7 separate regions of the Homo sapiens genome follow, and regions 2, 3, 4, 5, 6 and 7 are each linked to region 1. Evidence: promoter capture Hi-C in 16 types of primary human blood cells and fetal thymus (Javierre and others, 2016). All regions are on one chromosome and are shown on one strand. Each heading gives the region's core, a stretch centred on a gene start or on the middle of the fragment in contact. The rest is flanking DNA. Distances are from core to core; before and after follow the strand shown. Region 1 holds the start of PLXNA2 (plexin A2). Region 2 has its middle 34 kb from the start of LINC02767. Region 3 has its middle 53 kb from the start of LINC02767. Region 4 overlaps PLXNA2 (plexin A2). Region 5 overlaps PLXNA2 (plexin A2). Region 6 overlaps PLXNA2 (plexin A2). Region 7 overlaps PLXNA2 (plexin A2).

What was found. Contacts are between HindIII fragments. The CHiCAGO score rates a contact against its expected background, and 5 or more counts as called.
Region 2: a fragment that was not itself captured here is called in contact with the fragment with the promoter of PLXNA2 in region 1 in 13 of 17 cell types (fetal thymus, total B cells, naive B cells and 10 more); the score reaches 16.8 in fetal thymus.
Region 3: a contact is called between a fragment that was not itself captured here and the fragment with the promoter of PLXNA2 in region 1, in 15 of 17 cell types (fetal thymus, naive CD8 T cells, M1 macrophages and 12 more). The highest score is 13.7, in fetal thymus.
Region 4: a contact is called between a fragment that was not itself captured here and the fragment with the promoter of PLXNA2 in region 1, in 16 of 17 cell types (fetal thymus, naive CD4 T cells, naive CD8 T cells and 13 more). The highest score is 21.8, in fetal thymus.
Region 5: a fragment that was not itself captured here is called in contact with the fragment with the promoter of PLXNA2 in region 1 in 9 of 17 cell types (fetal thymus, megakaryocytes, M2 macrophages and 6 more); the score reaches 12.2 in fetal thymus.
Region 6: a contact is called between a fragment that was not itself captured here and the fragment with the promoter of PLXNA2 in region 1, in 1 of 17 cell types (fetal thymus). The highest score is 6.2, in fetal thymus.
Region 7: a contact is called between a fragment that was not itself captured here and the fragment with the promoter of PLXNA2 in region 1, in 3 of 17 cell types (erythroblasts, M0 macrophages and M2 macrophages). The highest score is 6.5, in erythroblasts.

Annotation. Positions count from the first base shown.
Region 1 is chr1:208,242,975-208,245,686 of GRCh38, reverse strand. It overlaps PLXNA2 (plexin A2), which reads left to right and starts at 1,303. Exons shown (of 32, transcript NM_025179.4): 1 at 1,303-2,044. RefSeq lists a silencer at 1,186-1,245 and enhancers at 1,764-2,263, 2,264-2,712. The HindIII fragment of the contact is 7,265 bases long and covers 282-2,712 here.
Region 2 is chr1:207,991,178-207,993,889 of GRCh38, reverse strand. No RefSeq gene overlaps it. Among named protein-coding and RNA genes, the nearest start is that of LINC02767, 34 kb to the right of the region's middle. The HindIII fragment of the contact is 986 bases long and covers 892-1,877 here.
Region 3 is chr1:208,010,367-208,013,078 of GRCh38, reverse strand. No RefSeq gene overlaps it. Among named protein-coding and RNA genes, the nearest start is that of LINC02767, 53 kb to the right of the region's middle. The HindIII fragment of the contact is 3,525 bases long and covers 1-2,712 here.
Region 4 is chr1:208,028,923-208,031,634 of GRCh38, reverse strand. PLXNA2 (plexin A2) reads left to right here. Exons shown (of 32, transcript NM_025179.4): 29 at 1-45; 30 at 2,593-2,712. Among named protein-coding and RNA genes, the nearest start is that of LINC02767, 71 kb to the right of the region's middle. The HindIII fragment of the contact is 5,248 bases long and covers 1-2,712 here.
Region 5 is chr1:208,048,878-208,051,589 of GRCh38, reverse strand. It overlaps PLXNA2 (plexin A2), which reads left to right. Exons shown (of 32, transcript NM_025179.4): 16 at 167-334; 17 at 488-581. Among named protein-coding and RNA genes, the nearest start is that of LINC02767, 91 kb to the right of the region's middle. The HindIII fragment of the contact is 5,744 bases long and covers 1-2,712 here.
Region 6 is chr1:208,072,935-208,075,646 of GRCh38, reverse strand. The region is part of intron 12 of PLXNA2 (plexin A2); the gene reads left to right. Among named protein-coding and RNA genes, the nearest start is that of LINC02767, 120 kb to the right of the region's middle. The HindIII fragment of the contact is 6,171 bases long and covers 1-2,712 here.
Region 7 is chr1:208,114,486-208,117,197 of GRCh38, reverse strand. All of the region lies in intron 4 of PLXNA2 (plexin A2), which reads left to right. Among named protein-coding and RNA genes, the nearest start is that of PLXNA2, 130 kb to the left of the region's middle. The HindIII fragment of the contact is 8,996 bases long and covers 1-2,712 here.

The sequences.
Region 1 (2,712 bases), core at 54-2,553:
GCTGATTTCTGCAGATGTTGGAGTAAAGCCTAGATCCCCCAGTCCTGTGTTGAATGTGCGATTGTTCGAGATGACTGGTTAGTCTAGATTTCCTTTTCTTCTTCCTCTCTCTCTCTCTTTTCTCCGGCTCCCTTTCTTCATCCTTCCCTCCCTTCGTTTCTTCTGCCGCTACTGCTCTAAGAATTTGGTGCAATTGCTTTTAGGTATTCGCAGTGATTTTTGTTGTTTTTTAGATTTATACCACTGAGGACTGTGGCCACGAGAGGGCAGTAGAGGAAGCTTATCAGAATACTTGGACAGGAGTAAACTCGTGTGCGCTCTAATCGCGAGCAGGGACTACGCAGATCCTGCGAACTCGCTGGGGTCCAGCTTGCAGGCCGCTTCCGGAAAGCCGTGTCTAGAGGCTGCGGAGTTACTGAGACTGTGTGGCGAGGAATCAGTGGCCTTGAGGGCACCGAGACATTGTCATCCAGAATCCCGAAACCTCTCACCTTAGGTTATTAAAATAAGTTATCTTATTGCCACCCCTCTGATTACCCTGCCAGAAAGATTCTCTGAATTGGATATAGAAAGCTCTTCTCCCGTCCCCAATGCCCCCATGCAAGTCGGGACTTACCAGATGCCCAGGATCCCTATCAGGGCTGGAAGTTTGAGATTCAATTCAGAGCAAGGTTCATCTTCTCATTGCAATAATAATAATAACAACAACTTCAAGCCTTATTTGACAGCTTGTTGGCCTTTTTCTTTTTTTAATTTACAAGAAGAGGAAATTTGCTCCCACAAATTCCAAGACTCTAGTCTCAACCCTACCAGACAAGCCCCGTTCCTCCCCACTCACCCCTCACTCAAATTACAGATGAAGAGGGAGGTGTGCAGGATGTGTGCGGTGACAGGTGATGCGAATGGGGGGGATTCCCTGTCCCTACTGCCCTCACCCACTCTTCCTGTGTTCTGAGCTCCCCCCTAACCCCAACGCTAGACCTTCTATTCCCCCGGGGGCCAAGCCAGCTGGGCTCGCAAGGCCCGACTCGAATTCCCGGGCCCTGGCAGCATTTTCCTTGCCCCCTTGGCTACTTAAGGTGGCCGATGGGTCCGGGCTGAGCTGGGCGCAGGACAGGCAGCCGAGCGGCCTCCGGATGCCAAACCTGCTTCTCCTTTGTTGACAGCTTGCGGAGGAGGAAGTCCGCGCGGGCGGGGGAGGGGGCAGGGTGCTGGCGGTGGCGGGCGGTGCCAGCAGCGGGCGCGGCCCCAGCCCGGGCGGACGCGGCCGGCGGGGAGGGGGTTAACGCGCGCGGCCTCTATGATAATGAGCTGCATGGTGAAATAGGGAGGCCGGCGCTCAGGGCTCCTCCGCCGCCGCCGCCGCCGCCGCCGCCGCCGCCACCGCGGGAGCCAGAGCTGCCGGGAGGAGCGGCATCCGCGCCAGACTGGAGCGGGAGGGCGGCGGAGGGCAGTTGCTGGGAATTTTTCAGCCGAGAGGGCGAGCGATCCGGAGAGAGACCCCGAGAGCTTGGGAGCGGTAGGGCGTGCGAGCGCCGCAGCCAGCGGAGCAAACCTCGAAATAGATCTGGAAAGCCAGGCTCCCGGAGGAAATGGGACTGTGAACGAACCGGAGAGCAAGAAGGGAAGGAAGCGCCGGGATTGCTGATGTCAGAGGAGCCCGGAAAGTCGCGCTGGAAAAATCTGAAGACAGCCGGGGCTCTGCTTCTTCCTCAGGAGAGACACCGCCGGCCGCCCCCACACGCCCCCTCGGCGCCTCCGGGTGCCCCCTGAGAGCCGGCGACAGCGCCCAGCCGGGCTGCTGCGGGGCGACGGAGGACTGAGGGGCGCGCGGAGCGGAGACCGAGGAGCGACTTCAGGAATACAGATAAGTGTCTGGTGGCTTGACGTGGATTTTAATGAATTTGGACTCCATGTGGATTTGGTCGTCTCCCTGATTCCGAGCTGCGGGCAGGGAGAGGGGCCTCGCGCCGCCCTCAGCAGCCGGCGGCGGCCGAGGTAGACCGAGCGGGGACGGAAGGACAGACCGACGTCGCCGAGCTGGGTAAGCGGCGGCTGGGCCGGGCGCTCGGAGTCGGCAGCGCCCTCCGCCCTCTCCCCACAGGCGCGCACACCCGTGGCGGCTTCTCCCGCGCCCGCCTCTTTGGGGTCCCGGCCCCAGAAGACCCGGCTTGGCCGCGGCGGGCGAGTCCCCGCGTGGGCTCGGCCACTTTCGCGGGCTGGAGCGCGGCGTGCGCGCGATCGCAGGCTCACTGGAGCCGCTGCCTCCCGCCGAGGGCTTCCCGGCCGGCAGCCCGCCGGCTTCCCGAATGCGGGCTGAGGGCGGCAGCAGCGCTCCGCGGCGCGCCTCCACCGCGCACCTGCCGGCGCTCTGCGGCTTTGGGGAGCTCGGGGCGGCAAGGCTGTCCTGAGAGCTGGAGCCCAAAGAGGGCCTCGGTGGCACCAGCGAGACAGCCCAAAGCCACACTGGCCAGCGATCGATTTGGGGGCGTTCACTCCAGTGCCGGGGTCCCTGGTGGCCGCCGGCTCTCCCTTCCGATCGGGGACTGGAGATCAGGGGAATGGGAAAACATCATTTGCGCGGGTTCCATAAGGCTCAGGGAGAGATTCCTAGGCACTGAATGGGTCTAAGTGTTTCATCTCCCGGGGCTCCCTTTGCGGTGTATCGCCCAGCAGGGGTCCAGCCCCTTAGTTTGAGCACCACAGGAGTGC
Region 2 (2,712 bases), core at 135-2,634, 250 kb after region 1:
CTCTCTCACAGTCCGCACTCCCTCCGATGGCTCTCTGGGCATTTGTTGTCCACACTACTTATTAGGATCTCAATAACCAGAGAGTATTTTTGCAGGATTAACCCCCACCTTGGAAACATCCACCACACACCCTGCATGCTGCTTGCCCCACCAACCCCTCAAATGTTGCTCACCCCCAGCCCTGGGCTAAAACAGAGCAACAGTGCCTCCTGGTGACCAATGTGGAAATCTGTCTAACTCAGCGTCTCCTCCACATTCCCTAAGCTCCCTTCAGAGCCTGGGCTTCCAGACCTCTGTCCCACACTCCTTCTCAGCAATCACCCCTCATGGCTCAGTTAATTTCACCCTGGACAATCTCATTCCCACATAAATATACATCCTTGTCCGTGCTGGTTTTCTCCCCCCTCTCTCTCCTGTCCAAACAGCCCACCATTTCTTTATTATTTTTGTTACATGTGTGAACAAACTAACACCCTTACCTGAGACCAATAAGAGCTGGCCTCCTTCTATAGCAAAAGGGGAGCGGGAGGAGCAGCCATGAGTTCTGAGCAGAACTTAGATCAAATAGAGAATCAGTCCCATCGACTTCTAAAACCCTGGAAAATACTCAGAAATTCCATTCCGATTTTCCATTAGTCTCTCTCTACTTGCTCATCCTTTTGTAACCATTTTTCTTCAAAACTCCAATATTCTAAATGAAAAATTTTACCTATTTTTATTCAATACTATCATACTTCTCTTCTAATTACTAGCCTTGCAAGAATATTGTTTTCTACTATTTTTCATGGCAAATGCACAGTGTTTAATCTATACTATGGGTTAAATAGGTTTCTGGCAGCCAGCCCAGGAGGCTTGCCAGCACTGATATCCTTGTTGTTATGGGAAAAAGCTTCAGACAACTAACTCAAATGAATTTTTGGAACTAAACCTATTTATAAGTCAGGAACTGCCTGTACTGCCTTGGATGGTTATTTGATTGGTGCGGGGATGTACGTCTTTCTTGTTTCCCAAATGAATTCATTCAATGTGCAACAAATACATATTAAGGTCTATTACAAGCAGGGCCTACACGAGGCCCAGGGGATGCCGTGGTACACAGGACCCAGTTTAGTTTCTGTCCTCACATTCTAGTGAAGGAGATGGTCAGGAAAGCAGGAAAGTCCACAACCAGATGCAATGGGATATGTATCCATCGGGGTTCATCAGAAAAACAGAACAAATACAGATAGATAGATCTTAAGGAACTGGTCCATGCAATTGTCAGGGCTGACAAGTCTCAAATCTGTAGGTCAGGCCAGCAGTCAGAAACTCAGGTACGATTTCTATGTTTCAGTATTGATCCAGAATTCCTTCTTCAGGAAACCTCAGTCTTTGCTCTTAAGACCTTCAGTGGATGAGGCCCACCCACATTATGGAGGGTAATCTGCTTTATTCAGTGTATTGGTTGTCAATCTAAAAATAATCTTCACAGGCCGGGTGTGGTGGCTCACGCCTATAATCCCAAAACTTTCAGAGGCTGAGGCAGGTGGATCGCTTGAGGTCAGGAGTTCGAGACCAGCCTGGCCAATGTGATGAAACCCCATCTCTACTAAATATACAAAAATTAGCTGGGTATGGTGGCATGCACCTGTAATCCCAGCTACTTGGGAGGCTAAGGCAGGAGAATTGCTTCAACCCGGGAGGCGGAGGTTGCCATGAGCCGAGATCACACCATTGCACTCCAGCCTAGGCAATAGAGCAAAACTCTGCCTCAAAAAATAAAAGTAAAAATAAAAATAATCTTCAGAACAGTATCTAGACTTGTATTTGACTAAACAACTGGGTATCGTAGCCTAGCCAAGTTAACACATACAATTAACCATCACATGATAGAAGCTTAGTAAGCCTCAGAGCCCAGAGAAGGTGACTCCTAACCCAGTACGTGTGTGTGTGTGTGTTGGGGGATGGGGTATAATGTATAAGCTGGAGCCTGAAATAGGCTTTAGCTAATAAATGGTAGCAGGGAGAACTAGCACATCCTTTCACATCCCTGGGTGGCCCGTTTGTGACAGGCTCATAGAATACTATGCTATATTTTACTCAGCCCCACTCTGCAAGGTGAACATGCCCCCCACTGCCTCAAGATCCTAGGAGGGGTCACAGCCTGCCTGTCTGCTCTGATTGCTATCGGCAAGTTCAGCCTTGATCCCTGGGGCATTGGTGTCAGGCCAATCACCCAACTGGACAACGGAGGAATGAACATCTCCCCCTTCCTCTCCTTCAGTGGGACTGGGGACTCCTTCCTGGCATCCACTTCACGTTCACATTCAAGAATGTGAATCTCTCCATTTGACCCCTTGTGAACCCAGTCCAGACCAGCCCCATGTGCACCAGCCTGCCTGGTGGCCCCCTGGCTGCCTCCTAGCCCTGAGGACCCCTCCCTGCCTGCCCCTGGCAGAGGGTGTGTGTGAGCATCTGGTGCTGCTGCCTGAGCAGTCCATCAGCCTTCACACCGCTGTCACCAGGAGACGTGGTGGAACGAAAACAAAAGACGTGACAAATTTGTCCTTTTCTCTTTATAATTAACCAAAATATCACAGCATGTAGCAAAGCACGGCTCCTAATTAACAGACAGTCGAGAGGCGATTAAGAAAAAAAGCTGTAGTCCCTTCTCATCACCCCTCCCACATGCGCTCCCACCTCCCCATGTGGCAGCCCACCCCCCACCCCCGT
Region 3 (2,712 bases), core at 115-2,614, 230 kb after region 1:
CGAACGGTAGGACTGAATAGTATAAAGATGCAAATGCTTCATGAATTAAGATATATATTTAATTTAATCCTTTACAAAATCCCAAATGAGATTTTTTTTTTCTAGACAGCATGACTCTAAAATTTATCTGGAAAATACATGAACAGAAGTAGTCTTTTTTCCTCCTAAAAAACAGAGTAACTATGGGAGATTTTTCTGCCAGATATTAAAATGCTATATTTCATACACAAATATGTTGTATTTTTAAATGTGTGAATGAATAAAGATACAGTAATTAAAACAGTGTGATTGTAATAGAAGAACCAACTGAACAGAATAAGACAGCTCAGAACAGTCTACTGTATATATATGTTTAAAAATTTAGCGTAAGCCAAAGGCAGCATCTAAGCCAATGGGGAAAGGAAGCCTTGTTTTTTTTTTTCTTAAACAGGGTCTCACTCTGTCACCCAGGCTGGAGTGCAGTGGCACGATCTCAGCTCACTGCAACCTCTGCCTCTCAAGCTCAAGGGATCCTCCCTCCTCAGCCTCCCACGTAGCTAGAACTACAGGATGCACACCACCACGCCCAGCTAATGTCTGTATTTTTTGTAGAGATGGGGTTTCACCATGTTGCCCAGGCTGGTCTCAATTTCCTGAGCTCAAGCCTTGCACCCACCTTGGCCTCCCAAAGTATTGGGATTACAGGCGTAAGCCACCACGCCCAGCCAAAAGCATTCCTTAATAAGTGATTCAGGGATAAATGTTTAACTATTTGGGGAAATATCAGTCTAAATCCTTACCATGATGCAACACAGAACAAAATAAATCCCAAATAAACTAAAAAATTAAATGTGAAAAAATCAAACCTGACTGGGCAGTGGGGTTGCTCACACCTGTAATCCCAGCACTTTGGGAGGCCTAGGGAGGAGAATCACTTGAGCCCAGGAATTTGAGACCAGCCTGGGCAACATAGGGAGATATCACCTCTACAAAAATAAAAGAAAAAACAATTCTAAACCTTCTTAACCAGGAGTGGTGGTGTGGGCCTGTAGTCCCAGCTACTCCAGAGGCTGAGGTGGGAAGATCACTGGAGCTCAGGGGGTCAAGGCTGCAGTGAGACGGGACTGCCCCACTGTACTCTAGCCTGGGCGGCAGAGCAAGACTCTGTCCCCCGACCTCAAAAAAAAATCATAAAATACTTAGAATAAAATATTAGTATGTTTATCTCAGTGTGGAGATGGAATTTCTAAGTATAAAAGCAATTGGAGGAATCACAAAGAAAGAATAGATATATTTGGCTGCATATAAATTCAAACCATATCTATAAAAAACATCATAGAAAATAAAGTAAACAGCAAAATCAACCTGAGAAAAAATGTCTTCAACAAAAACATCAAAAAGTTAATGTTCTTAAAATACAAAATAGCACTTATACACATAAAAAGCCCCACTAAACCCAAAAGAAAAATGTGCAAAGGATGAGAATAGACTATTTGCAGAAGAAATGCTAATGATTATTTAGACACACAAAGAAATGTTGAAGCTCACTAGCAATCAATATATGTGAAAAAAACACAATAATGAAATACAATTTTTGCCCTATTAAATTAGCAAATACTTGTAAAAGTCAATGTGGATTATTGATGAAGGAAGGTGTACTACAATGCTGGGCCCTCTCACACTATTAGAAATTTGTACAATATTTCTAGAACACAAGATGGCAGTAAGTCTCAAGGGCCTTTAAAATATTCATTCTCTTTGTGGTAATAATTTCACTTCCATTCTGAGCAGGTAAAAACAAGGACAAACATATATGTACATGTCTTTTATTTAAAATAATAAGTAGAAACAAATTAAATACTGCCAATATGGGAGAGTTAAATAAATTATAGTATGTCCACAAGATGAAATATTATATTCTGATTTAAAATTATGTCCACAGAGAATTTTTAATGATTTGGAAAACTGTTCACAGCATGTTACAGTGTGGTCTAAATAGGGGAGTAGGATTATGTGAGAATTTTACTTGTTACTTTATTCTGTTTCCCAATCACCCTCCCAAATATCTACAAGTGTAATGACAATTGTAATAAAAAAAATACTGTACTCCAAAACTCCTCATCAGCCACAATTACTTTCATAGAATAGCAGAAGGTCCTCTCCCATTCCCTTATCTCAGGGAAACTCCACTCCACCTCCCAGGTCCTAAACTAAATTAGTGACGTCTTTTCCTCCTCTGAGGTTGCCCAGCAAAGAAGGTGGATGGTGACTCACAGTGTGGGCTTTGTAGGAGGCCACAAGACCCCAAAACCTAGCATTCAAGAAAAGGAAAAGCAATTCCCCAGACTTTGGCATTGGTAGAACCTGCCTGGTTTCCTATCTAAGCCCGGCCAAGCATGAATGTGGATCAGTGACCTTGGGACTATCTCTGCATTGAGCAGGAACGTAGGCTCCAGAAGGGCAGGTTCTGTCCTGTCCACCACTGTGTCTCCGAGGCCTATCTTATGATATAGGATTCAGCAAATATTGAATGCATGGATGCACAAGTTTCTTCTTCTATGCAGTGGATGAAATAAGCCTGTTTCACAGAGTGGTTTGATGTTTGTAAACAGTCAGGCCACAGTAGATGCTCCGTAGAGGTTGGTACCCATGCCACACGTAGCTGACCACAGCAGAGGCCTCAGTCTCCTCGCTCTCGTAAAGTTAGACAGCTTCGCTGGAGGTATAAATGGT
Region 4 (2,712 bases), core at 146-2,645, 210 kb after region 1:
CAGCATCCATGACACAGATGTGCGGCACACCTGGAAAAGCAACTGGTAAACCCTCGGGGAGCTCAGCAGGAGGTGCAGCCTGGAGAGGCCTGGAGCTAAGAGGGATGAGGACCAGGAGATGGGAGGGTGGGAGGATAGCCTATTCTCGGCTGGGGCTGGGTGATCCAAAGCTCCTGGAACAAACAGTGCACATATGCTCTGCAGAGCCCACACGGTCCCCAGCTGCCTGTGCCAAGTGGGGCCTGCCTGGCTTGAGGCACAGCAATAGGATGCACCCTTGAATTCTGCCCCTCCAGGTTGTGACCAGTACCCCAAGAAGAGCCTCCTCCCCTGGCTCTGAGATCTCTGGTTCTCAGGAGAAGGGAGCTGGGGGAACCTATGCAAAGAGCTGCATTTGAAGCCTGCAGCAGAGCTTCACAGCCAGACATCGTGGGGCATTCTGAGTGGGGCAGTTCTAAGGCACTTCCTGAGATGGGGAATCCCTGAATTAAACTGAGACGCCCGGTGAAGTTGGTCAGCACCGGAGAGGGAGTTCACACCTGCTATAGACTTGAGCCCACTGACAGGGAGGATTTCATTGCAAACTTGATCTCTTAAGGCCAAGTGATTATCCTGGCGCCATAGCTTTCAGGAAGCAGCAGGCAGAATGCCCTGCAGGCATGACTCTCTCCCCTAAAGTCATCTCTGCAACCAGACCAGCAGTGGGAGAAGCCCTCAGGCCCCTGGTATGAGACTTTATCCTCATGGGTTTTGAACCTGGACCACAGACCAAGCTAAGGACTGGCTTTCAGGTCAGACAGGACCCGGCCAAGAGCTGGCATCAAAAGGCTTCCTTTGGGAAAGAGCACAGAGAGGGGAGAGGGGAGGTCCAGGCATTTGGGTTGGGCAGGCAGCCCACGCAGCTGTCTGGAGTTAGCGGTCTCCTCAGAAAACAGAGCCGACACAGATGGGCCCAGGCTGTTATTTGGGAATCAAAAGTCCTAGCAACCAACAAAACACTTTGGAAAAAGCCAACCCCAGCCCCATCTCTTCCTTCCTCCTCCCGGGTCTTGTGGTCGCTGAGCCTTCCTCAGTCTGCAGCTTTGATCACAGTGGAGTGAAACGAACAGGCTGGGGTGGCCCTGGGGTTAAGAGCCCACAGTCCACTTTGCCAGGACAGGCCTTCCATCTGCATTCCCTGGACAGCACATGCCTGTCCCCTTTGCTTTGGAGCATCCCCGGCCCAGCGCTGGGAGAGGGCACTTCAGGGGAAATCAAGAGAAAGTCCAGGGTTATCCGCATCTCTGTGCCTTCTGTGTGCTGGCCAGATCCAAGTAATAGAAATGGACTACCCTGGCATCGTGGTGTGGAGAGAGTTTCCTTAACCAGACCTCAATAGCAAATGTCCAGGGAAAGATTACCAGAAACTACCCAAGGCTGCCAGAAGAAGGGGAGGGTAGAAGAGATGAGTCAGCTCTCAGCTGCAGCAGCTTCTCCCAGGCTAGAGGAAAGTGAGGGATCCTGTTGTGTTTTGGAAGATAGGCAGAAATCATCGTGGAAGGGCTTGAGGCTGGGTAAAGCAGATCTTCCCCAAGACCTGGCACTACTGAGACATTTGGGAAAGTTTGGGGCCCATGAGAGTCAAGAGAAGATGAAGGAGGGGAGAGAAGAAGAAGCTGGGGAGCTGGGAACATCATCTCAGGCTGGAGGACAAGCCTGTGACAGGACCGGTTCCACAGAGGAGTCAAAAGAGTTAAAGCCCAGAAGGCAGCTGGAAGAGAAGGCAAAGCTGGAAAAGGAAGTAAAAGCAGCAGCTGTTCTGATTTTGAAGGAGAGTAAATGGGCTTATTTGCTTTATGGTCTAAGGAGCAGAGAAAACTCATTCTCCTCTGGTTATAAATTCCCGAGTTGCAGAAGGAAGTCTCCTAACTACTGATCGGTTCCTCTTGGGGTGGGAAAATCTCTGAGCTACAGTGAGTCATTCCCAGGATGCCAACAATGGCCTCCACTTCTCCCTCTGCCCCTGCCCAGATACAAGAACGCCCTGGGGAGAGTCATGAAAGAACTTCCCCCAGGGGAGCCCATTCCTCGGCCCAGCCAGGCCAGGCCAGCCCTGGGAAGTAGCTTGGGCAGCCGGGCTGGGCGGGGAGCGCAGGTGGCGCCCTTTGTGCCTGCTCCGAGGCTGAGCCTGGGGCTCCTGGCTGCCTTCTTCCGGACAATGGCCACGGGCACTGTGAAGGGACTCCAGGAGCCTGGTGGCTTTGTGTGAAGCCCTGAGAAAATGTGCTGTCCTCTGTTCTTGGGCTTGCCTAGGGGCACAGAGTCCTTTAGAAAAGTCTCCCAGAAGGGAACAGAACACACCCAGGCCCACCCCTCGGATGTTAGAGATCAGGGTCAGTGCCCCCATTAGGGTACAAAGTGCCTCTCCTTCCATTTCTCCCAGGTCAGTAACAGCTTTGGCTAAATTAACCCTGGCTGGACCCATTTTCTTCCATTTTACTCCTTTGCCCCTTCAGGTGGACAATTTGACCTTTGATGGGGAAGAATATCAGTGGGCAGCAGAAGGGGCACGGCCCGCATGCATTCTCAAGTCTTCTCTGCCTTTCCCCACAGCCTCCCTCTGCGCTTCTGGGTGAACGTGATTAAGAACCCCCAGTTCGTGTTTGACATCCACAAGGGCAGCATCACGGACGCCTGCCTCTCTGTGGTGGCCCAGACCTTCATGGACTCTTG
Region 5 (2,712 bases), core at 135-2,634, 190 kb after region 1:
TGATCTATACTGATGCGGGATGTGTTCCATTGTTGTAGAATATAAAAGGATGAGAGAACACTTCTGTGGCCTTACCCGCAGACCAAGGAAAGCCCCTTGTCAAGCCAGTGGGCACCTCTTGTTGCCCATGCCTTTCTTCTCAACCCTCCTGCTGTCTCCCTGTCAGGAGGTCAATGAGTGAGATCGTGTGTGTCTCACCCCCATCATCCAATGGCCTTGGCCCGGTCCCTGTTTCTGTGAGTGTCGACCGAGCCCATGTGGATAGCAACCTGCAGTTTGAGTACATAGATGACCCTCGGGTCCAGCGCATCGAGCCAGAGTGGAGCATTGCCAGGTGAGGTGGAAGGTGGGAGGGATGCACCTGGAAGCCACCCAGCATGATCCCTGCAGCCCAAGTCTGGCTCATGAGAGGGATCCCTAAGGTGGAGGTTCACCATGCCAGATTTGAGGGGGTTTTTTACCTAACCGAGCCTCTGCCTGTTTTCAGTGGCCACACACCCCTGACCATCACAGGCTTCAACCTGGATGTCATTCAGGAGCCAAGGATCCGAGTCAAATTCAATGGCAAAGAATCTGTCAATGTGAGTAACTGTTGGTCTGCCCCAGCCTTTGGTAAACACAGCTCTGTGTTGATGTTTTGCAATGGGATGAGCTCTGGGTTAGGCACTGGAGCCTCTGAATACTGGAGAGGAAAACTGGCTTAAGACTCTGAGCCTGGAATCATGGTCCAAATACCTAAACCTTATAATTTTTTTTTTTTTAAGACATGGCCTCACCCTGTCACCTAGGCTGGAGTGCAGTGGTGCAACCACAGCTCACTGCAGCCTTGACCTCCCGGGCTCAAGAGATCCTCCCGCCTCAACCTCCTGAGTAGCTAGGACCACAGGCGCATGCTTGGCTAGTTTATTATTATTATTATTTTAGAGATGAGGTCTCTCTCTTTTGCCCAGGCTGGTCTCAAACTCCTGGGCTCAAGTGATCCTCCCGCCTTGGCCTCCCAAAGTGCTGGGATTATAGGCATGGGCCACCATATTCAGCCCTACAATGATTTTTATATTATAATGACAGTACAATTTCTTGTCAGAAGGTGATATAGTGAGTGTATCAAAGTACTGGCTTCTGAGTTTATGATACAGCACAAAAGGACTCCTGTTTTATGACAGGTTGACTTTGAGGTCCAGTGAAAACCCATATTGGAAGTGGTTGGAGAAATTCTGGCTCCAGATTCAGACATGTCTGGAGAGGAAGCAGGGTTCTGCCATCTATTAGCTGTACAAGCATGGTCAAGTCATTTAACCTCCGGATCCTCCACCTCTCAGCTATGAATGGTGACAAGCAGACCTGCCTCAGCTTCATAACCTGCCAGCCCGTGGCTGGCATAAGGTTGGCAGTTGATAAATGCTAGTCACTGCATCAGATAACTCCACCTAGGTTGCTAAGATGATAAGTTTGGACATTTTATATTAGTCTTCCATGCATAGCCATGTAATTTTTATAATTTTTAAAAAGTTGTCTGTATCGTAGGGATAGAATGTCTGATATGTTGTCAATTTTTTATCATTTTTCTAGGCTCCATCTCACTCTTTCAGCCAATATTTTTTGAAACATGATTGTATTTGTAATTATATTATAGCAGATGCTACTATGGCCATTATTTTTCATAGAAATTACTATCATTACTGCTTTGACCTTCAGGGGCTTGACTAGACTAAGATGGAGATGGAGAAGATGGTGTTATGTCTCCCCTCTTACCCCTGACACATTTCCAGGGTACTTGAGGCTTCCATAAGAAACACAGAGATACACAAAATGACAGAGTGTTAGAAGGTTAGATATAGAAAGGTCTCAGGGATCATCTGATGCAACCCCTTCATTGTGTAGCAGAGGAAACTAAGTCCAGAAAGGTTAAATGACTTGCCCCCAATCATACAGGTGACTGGTGGAAGGGCCAAGGTGGATCCCAAACATCCAGACTCTTCGTAACTAGGCCACATGAAATGCTGGTGGGCTTGACATTACCATCCTGCTGGAGATGTTGGGGAGCACTTGTACCACACCTTCAGTATCCACCATGGTCACTCCTTTTTGGGCTAGGTGAGCGCATGCCTCCTTCTGCCAGGTGTAGAACTTGATCCATGGGTAAAAGAGCCTAGGCCCCCACTCCATTTCCAGACTGAAGCTCAGGGTCCCCAGAAACTCCCAGGTAACTCCAGAGTCTAGGGTGAGGTATGGGAACAAGAATGGTAAGTTCACACCCAGGAAGGATTTAAAAAAAAAAAAAAAGCAAGCAAATTAGGTACATGTTTTAAAATATAGGTTTTATTGTTATTCAGGTATGGCAAGGCCAGAGTATAACTTGTTCTACTCATAGATCAAATCCCAAGAGAAGAGGGAAGTCCATGCCCCAGGGGTCACAGGGGGAAGCACCAGGGTTGGTCTGCCTGGAGGCGGAGGGAGAAACCGTGGCAAGAGTCTTTATGTGGTTTCTGCAGGAAGGAACAGGCATAGCAGGGTAAGCAAGTTTAGGATCAGCTAGTTTGAGTCATTTTAGCAGGCTCTGGGGCCCAGGGCTGTCCCTAGATGTTTGGTGCCTGGTCCCAGAATGATGAGGGCATGAGGATAGTGTGGAAAGGGGCAGTTGAGCTGTGGGGTCTGGATTGGTTCGTGCATATGAAAGGCACGCTCACAGGCAAGTTATTTGCTATCTCTAGG
Region 6 (2,712 bases), core at 55-2,554, 170 kb after region 1:
CAGGCAAAGAATGGTCAATGAACACTAAAATTAGTAGATGAAAGTATGATGAGAAATAGGATATTTACATAACCTTAAGCTACCTTCCCATAAGATACTTGTTAATTATGACAAGAACAATAGTGACTGGGCAGTGAAGAAACGTGGTAGACCTCACCTAAACCAATTGATGAAAGTAAACAAAGCCAGTAATGGGAAAAATCAACCTCATGTACCTTTCAATAGAATGCTCTGAGAAGGACACAACCTCATTTCTATGGTGTTTTTGGCAAGAATATGTAATTTGCTAAAAGCAACCTTTAAGGAGATTTTCTTTTCTTATTATTTTTTTTTTTTTGAGACAGAGTCTCACTCTATCGCCCAGGCTGAAGTGCAGTGGTGTGATCTTGGCTCACTACAACCCCCGCCTCCGGGTTCAAGGGATTCTCCTGCCTCAGCCTTCCGAGTAGCTGGTACTACAGGCACGTGCCACCACGCCCAGCTAATTTTTGTATTTTTGCTGGAGACAGGGTTTCACTATGTTGGCCAGGCTTGTCTCAAACTCCTGACCTCAGGTGATCCGCCCACCTCAACTTCCCAAAGTGCTGGATTTATAGGCATGAGCCACCATGCCCGGCCAACTCATTTTCTTTACTTCAGCTTTCTTGGCTAATCCCTTTGCACTGGCATAGATGTTTTCCCCAAACCTCTGAATCATCGGACTTCCATGAGGCCCATACCCTTTGATGCAGACCTCCTTGTCCCCAGCCTTCATCTTCAGAATGGGTGTCCTCCTTAGTGCAGCCACTCTGTGCAGTAAATAGAAGCCATTTACTACAAAGATCCTTCTTGAAGGATGAAAAGAGAAGGATTCTAAGATGGCCTGTGATGGCAGTTGGGGGTGGCAGAATCTCCAGTCCTGGAAATAAGTGGAAGCTGGAATGGATGCTGTCCTTCCTGGGACAGCAGAGAAATAAATGAGATGATCTCAAAGGAGTTCTACGTTAGAAAAAGAAGTGGGCTCACGCATAGTTAGATAAACAGCTGTGTTATTCCTTAACCCCTCCTTACCCCATCTTCTCCATGGCAACCAGGCCCACCCGAGGGACCCATCTTTTATGGCAGCTTCATGTAGAACAAGTTGTACAGGCTATTGAATTTCACAGTTTGCATAAACTTCAGGTTAGGACCCCCTCAGGACTTACCTTCTGCTCCTCAGCCAGCTCGTGGTGTGATAATGATGCTGTCCCCCATGGGAGGCCTCCTGAGCTGCTCCCATTTCCAGCTGTCATCGTGGGTGTCTGTGCACGTGTCACCTGTTCAACCCTAGGAACAGGAGACGTGCAGAGGATTGGAAAGCCCATGAGATGGCTGGCCCGCCACGTTTCCGTTCCCCCAGCCTATGCTTCAGGACCTGCTGGGACCTCAAAGAGGAGGGTGTTAGGAGCCACAGACTGGAAAGGAAGGCCCAGAGAAAAACATTTCTTAAGGGGCCATGAGTAGGCAGGATCCAGCAGAAAAGGAAGAGACTGAATATTTTCTCAGGAAGATAAACTCAGGGAGGGTAAAGGGATTTTGGAGCTCACATAACAGAGGTCTTCTTCACTCCAAGCGAGTGTATCAGTTTCCTAGGGCTGCCCTAGCAAAGAACCACAAACAGGTGGCTTAAACAACCTGAATATATTTGGAGGTCTGAACTTCAAGATCAAGGTGTCAGCAGCGTGGGTTCCTTCTGAGCGCTGTGAGGGGGAATCTGTTCCAGGTCTCTTTCCTGGCTTCTGGTGGTTGCTGGGAATCTTTGCTGTTCCTTGGCTTGTAGAAGCATCAACCTGACCTCTGCCTTCATGTCCACATGGCATTCTATCTCTGTGTGTGTGTCTGTCTCCCTATTTTTTTTTTTTAAATAAAGACCCTGTCATATTGGATTAGTGCCCACTCTAATTATCTCATTTTAATACGATTACCTCTTTAAAGACCCTATATCCAAAGAAGGTGCCATTCTAAGGCACTGAATTAGGTCTTCACCATATGAATTTTGAGGAGACAAGAGTCAAACCATAAGAGTGAGCATTCTGATCAGAGGGGGGAGATGCCACCATTCCAAATATGTTAATTCACTCATTAAATGAATATTTAATTAATGACTACTGTATGCCATGAACTATGCTGGGCTTGGAAGTTGTCTGTCACATGTATATGTGACTCCTGGTTAAGGAGGCTAGGTTATGCAGCCTCTTCCAATGTAGCCCCAGCCTATGCTTGAACATTGGCCACCTGGAAGAGGCTGGAAACTGACTGCCCTGCAGGCCATTGTGCTTCCTCCAAAAGGCCTAGGGCAGACTTCTAATCTCCACCCTCTGCAGTTGTGTCCTGTGTAGAAGGACTGAAGCAGGGATACAGGTCTTCTGTTAATGAGGACACTAACCTCAGGACCTCAGGCAAGGGACATGAGCAGACCAGCCAACATTCTAATTCTGGGAGTCTTCATGATAATTGCTTCTCTTTAATAAGACTCTCCCATGTGCCAGGCTCTGAGCCTACTCCTTCAAACAACCCTGCAAGTTGGCTATTATTATCTTCACTTAAGAGTTGGGGAAACAGTTCTTAGAGAAGTAAAGAATTAGCCCAGTGTCACACACACATCTGGTTAGTGGCAGAGCAGAAGGCCGACTTCCTCCACCACACCATGGTGAGGGGGATGGAGGGCTATTCCTTGGCTATACATTTCCCCAC
Region 7 (2,712 bases), core at 69-2,568, 130 kb after region 1:
TCATTCCTTCAACTCTTTTTTTTATGTGAGACAGAGTCTTGCTCTGTCATCCAGGCTGGAGTGCAGTGGTGTGATCCCGGCTCACTGCAACCTCCACCTCCCAGGTTCAAGCTATTCTCCTGCCTCAGCCTCCTGAGTAGCTGGGACCACAGGCATGCACCACCACACCCGGCTAATTTTTGTATTTTTGTAGACACGGGGTTTCACCATGTTGGCCAGGCTGGTCTCAAACTCCTGAACTCAAATGATCCTGCCCAGCTTGGCCTCCCAAAGTTCTGGGATTACAGGCATAAGCACCTTGCCTGGCCCCTTTAATCCTTTCATTCCATTCATCTGGGTCAGGGGATCCAGGGTCAGGGGCAGAAGAATCATGAACCTGAATCTTGAGAATCTACTCTGAAAAATTGTATGGCAGTCTGCACTTTACCTTAGAACACAGCATTATTGTATCATGGTGCCTTCGTGGATGCCTTAATTTTAACATCCAATAATATTTAACAAATGTGAAAACTGAGGCCCAGGGAGGTTAAGGGACTTGCCCGGTACAGTTGAGTATGTGGTGAGGCTGAGCTACGTTCTTCTGACCCTAACAGCTATGTCCTTTCCGTGACACCAAAAGCCTCTGCTGTGTTGTAAACATTGACTATTAAAAAATTTTAAAAGCCCTCAAGTCACCGAATGGATACTCGCAGAATACCAGGGGGCCTCAGCCACACCTAGAGAACTTTAGCATAGTGCATTTGATTAAAGAGCTTAAAATAAAACCTGGATCATTGGGCAAGTATAATTAGCTTCTCAGCAGGTATTTATAGACCTATTTCGTACAAGAAACTGAAGTGGGAGCATACAGAGATGTCTCATAAGAAGAAATAAAAAGAAGAGCCCTATAAGTAATCTAAAAAGTTACCTACCTAAGAAGAGTATAAAAAGTGCATTAGACTCATGCCAATTGGGCAGGCAGTCAGATTCTCAGTTCAGAGAGAGAAGTAACAAAGGTTGATCAAGGAAGACTTCCTGGAGGAGGGAGGGCCCAGGGATTTGCACATGAGCGGGAGAGGGGAGGATGTTTGGATTAGCAGGAATGTATGAGCAAAGGCATGGAGGCAGGACTACACAAAGCAAGAGAGGAGGCCAGCCTGGCAGGAGTGCAGTTGACATTGACCAAAGGGGTCAGGAGTGGAAACGTCAGCCTGGGTGAGGAGCAGAATTTAGAAGTCTGAAATGTCACACTGAGGTGTTTGGACTATAAACTTCCTGAGATAGGCAGAGTTTTCTTGTTGTTTTATATTTTATTTTTATTGTTGTGTTTCTTTAGCTGAAAGAAACTGTGTTTTGTATTATTGGTACAAAACACTGACTCTTGAAAGCCTTCCCTGATTTGTACTTCCCTTTTGCTCCTATAGCTTTTACCATGTCTCAATCATATTGCTAATATTTCATTATAGTTTGGGAGGTGTGTCTGTCTTCCTGACAACACTATGAGTACTTTGGGATCAAGGTTGTATCTGTGCATTCTGTGAACTTAATGTCTACACAGACTGTATTGTAGGTGTTTAATACATATTTATTAATAATAACTATCAGCTATCAGCAAGGTACAGGGCTTAGCATTTTCTAACCCATGCCATCCTTCATGTCTAAGAGGCGGTATGGTGTAAAAGTTGAGAACATGGGCTCTGTAGCCAGCCTGCCTGAGTGCGAGTCCCAGCTGTATAACTTACTGAATACATGACTTTAAACAACTTCACTGAGACTCTCTGTTCCTCAGTTTCTTCTTCAGCTGCAGATAACTTTTATACAACTTATATATATAGCAGTCTGGTGGATGAATGGATGGATGAATGGATGAACTCAGCGGATAGACTAATGATTGAGTAAATGAATGAATAAACAAGCAAATGCACAAAGTATATGTGCCCGGTGTATTTCTACCACATTCAGGTTGACTTGGTGATAAATCAAATATATCAGAATGCAGATTCACAAGGTCACGCCAATCAACCCACACTGACTAACCCCTGGGTACAAAGCACTGAGGCCATGTGGTCATTGCTGCCTCCATGGAATGGTCTTGATCCAACTGACCAGTCTATAAAGGTTCCCAAACCAACACAGAGGCACTGGATCCAGCAAAGCCTAGGAGCTTTCCTGCCTCATATCACCACCTTGCCAGAGTTGAATGAATGAATGGCAGGAATGAATAAATGAGCTCTATACCAAAAGGAAATTAAAATGTTCCAATGTAAGTATAGGAGACTCTTGTTTCCCCTTAGGCAGAGATTTAATACATATTCTTATCCTCCATCTCCCTCCCGCTCCCTCTATCCTTCCTTCCCTCTCTCGCTCTCTCTCTCTTTCACACACATACACACACACTCATCTACTCACTCACTGCCTTCTAGGAAGCTGTGATGGACAAGACAATTCTCTATAGTTCTGCCCAAGGGAACCAGTCACTCAGCATACCAAGAAAAGTCAGAGAGAATACTATCGGGGGGTCTGATGTGTCAGAGAGGACAAGATGCCCAAGTTTTGGATGGTTAGAAAGGAAAGCTGCGAGATAGTGGAGAAGATGCATTCCATGGTGTTTGCTGAAAACCAAAATTCTGTTTTACAGCATGAGGTTCCTGTGGCTTCTTACCTACTCAGAGTCATACAACAGTTTAGGCAGAGAGGTAGAGTCTGGTCTCAGATCCGGCACCTATGGATAAT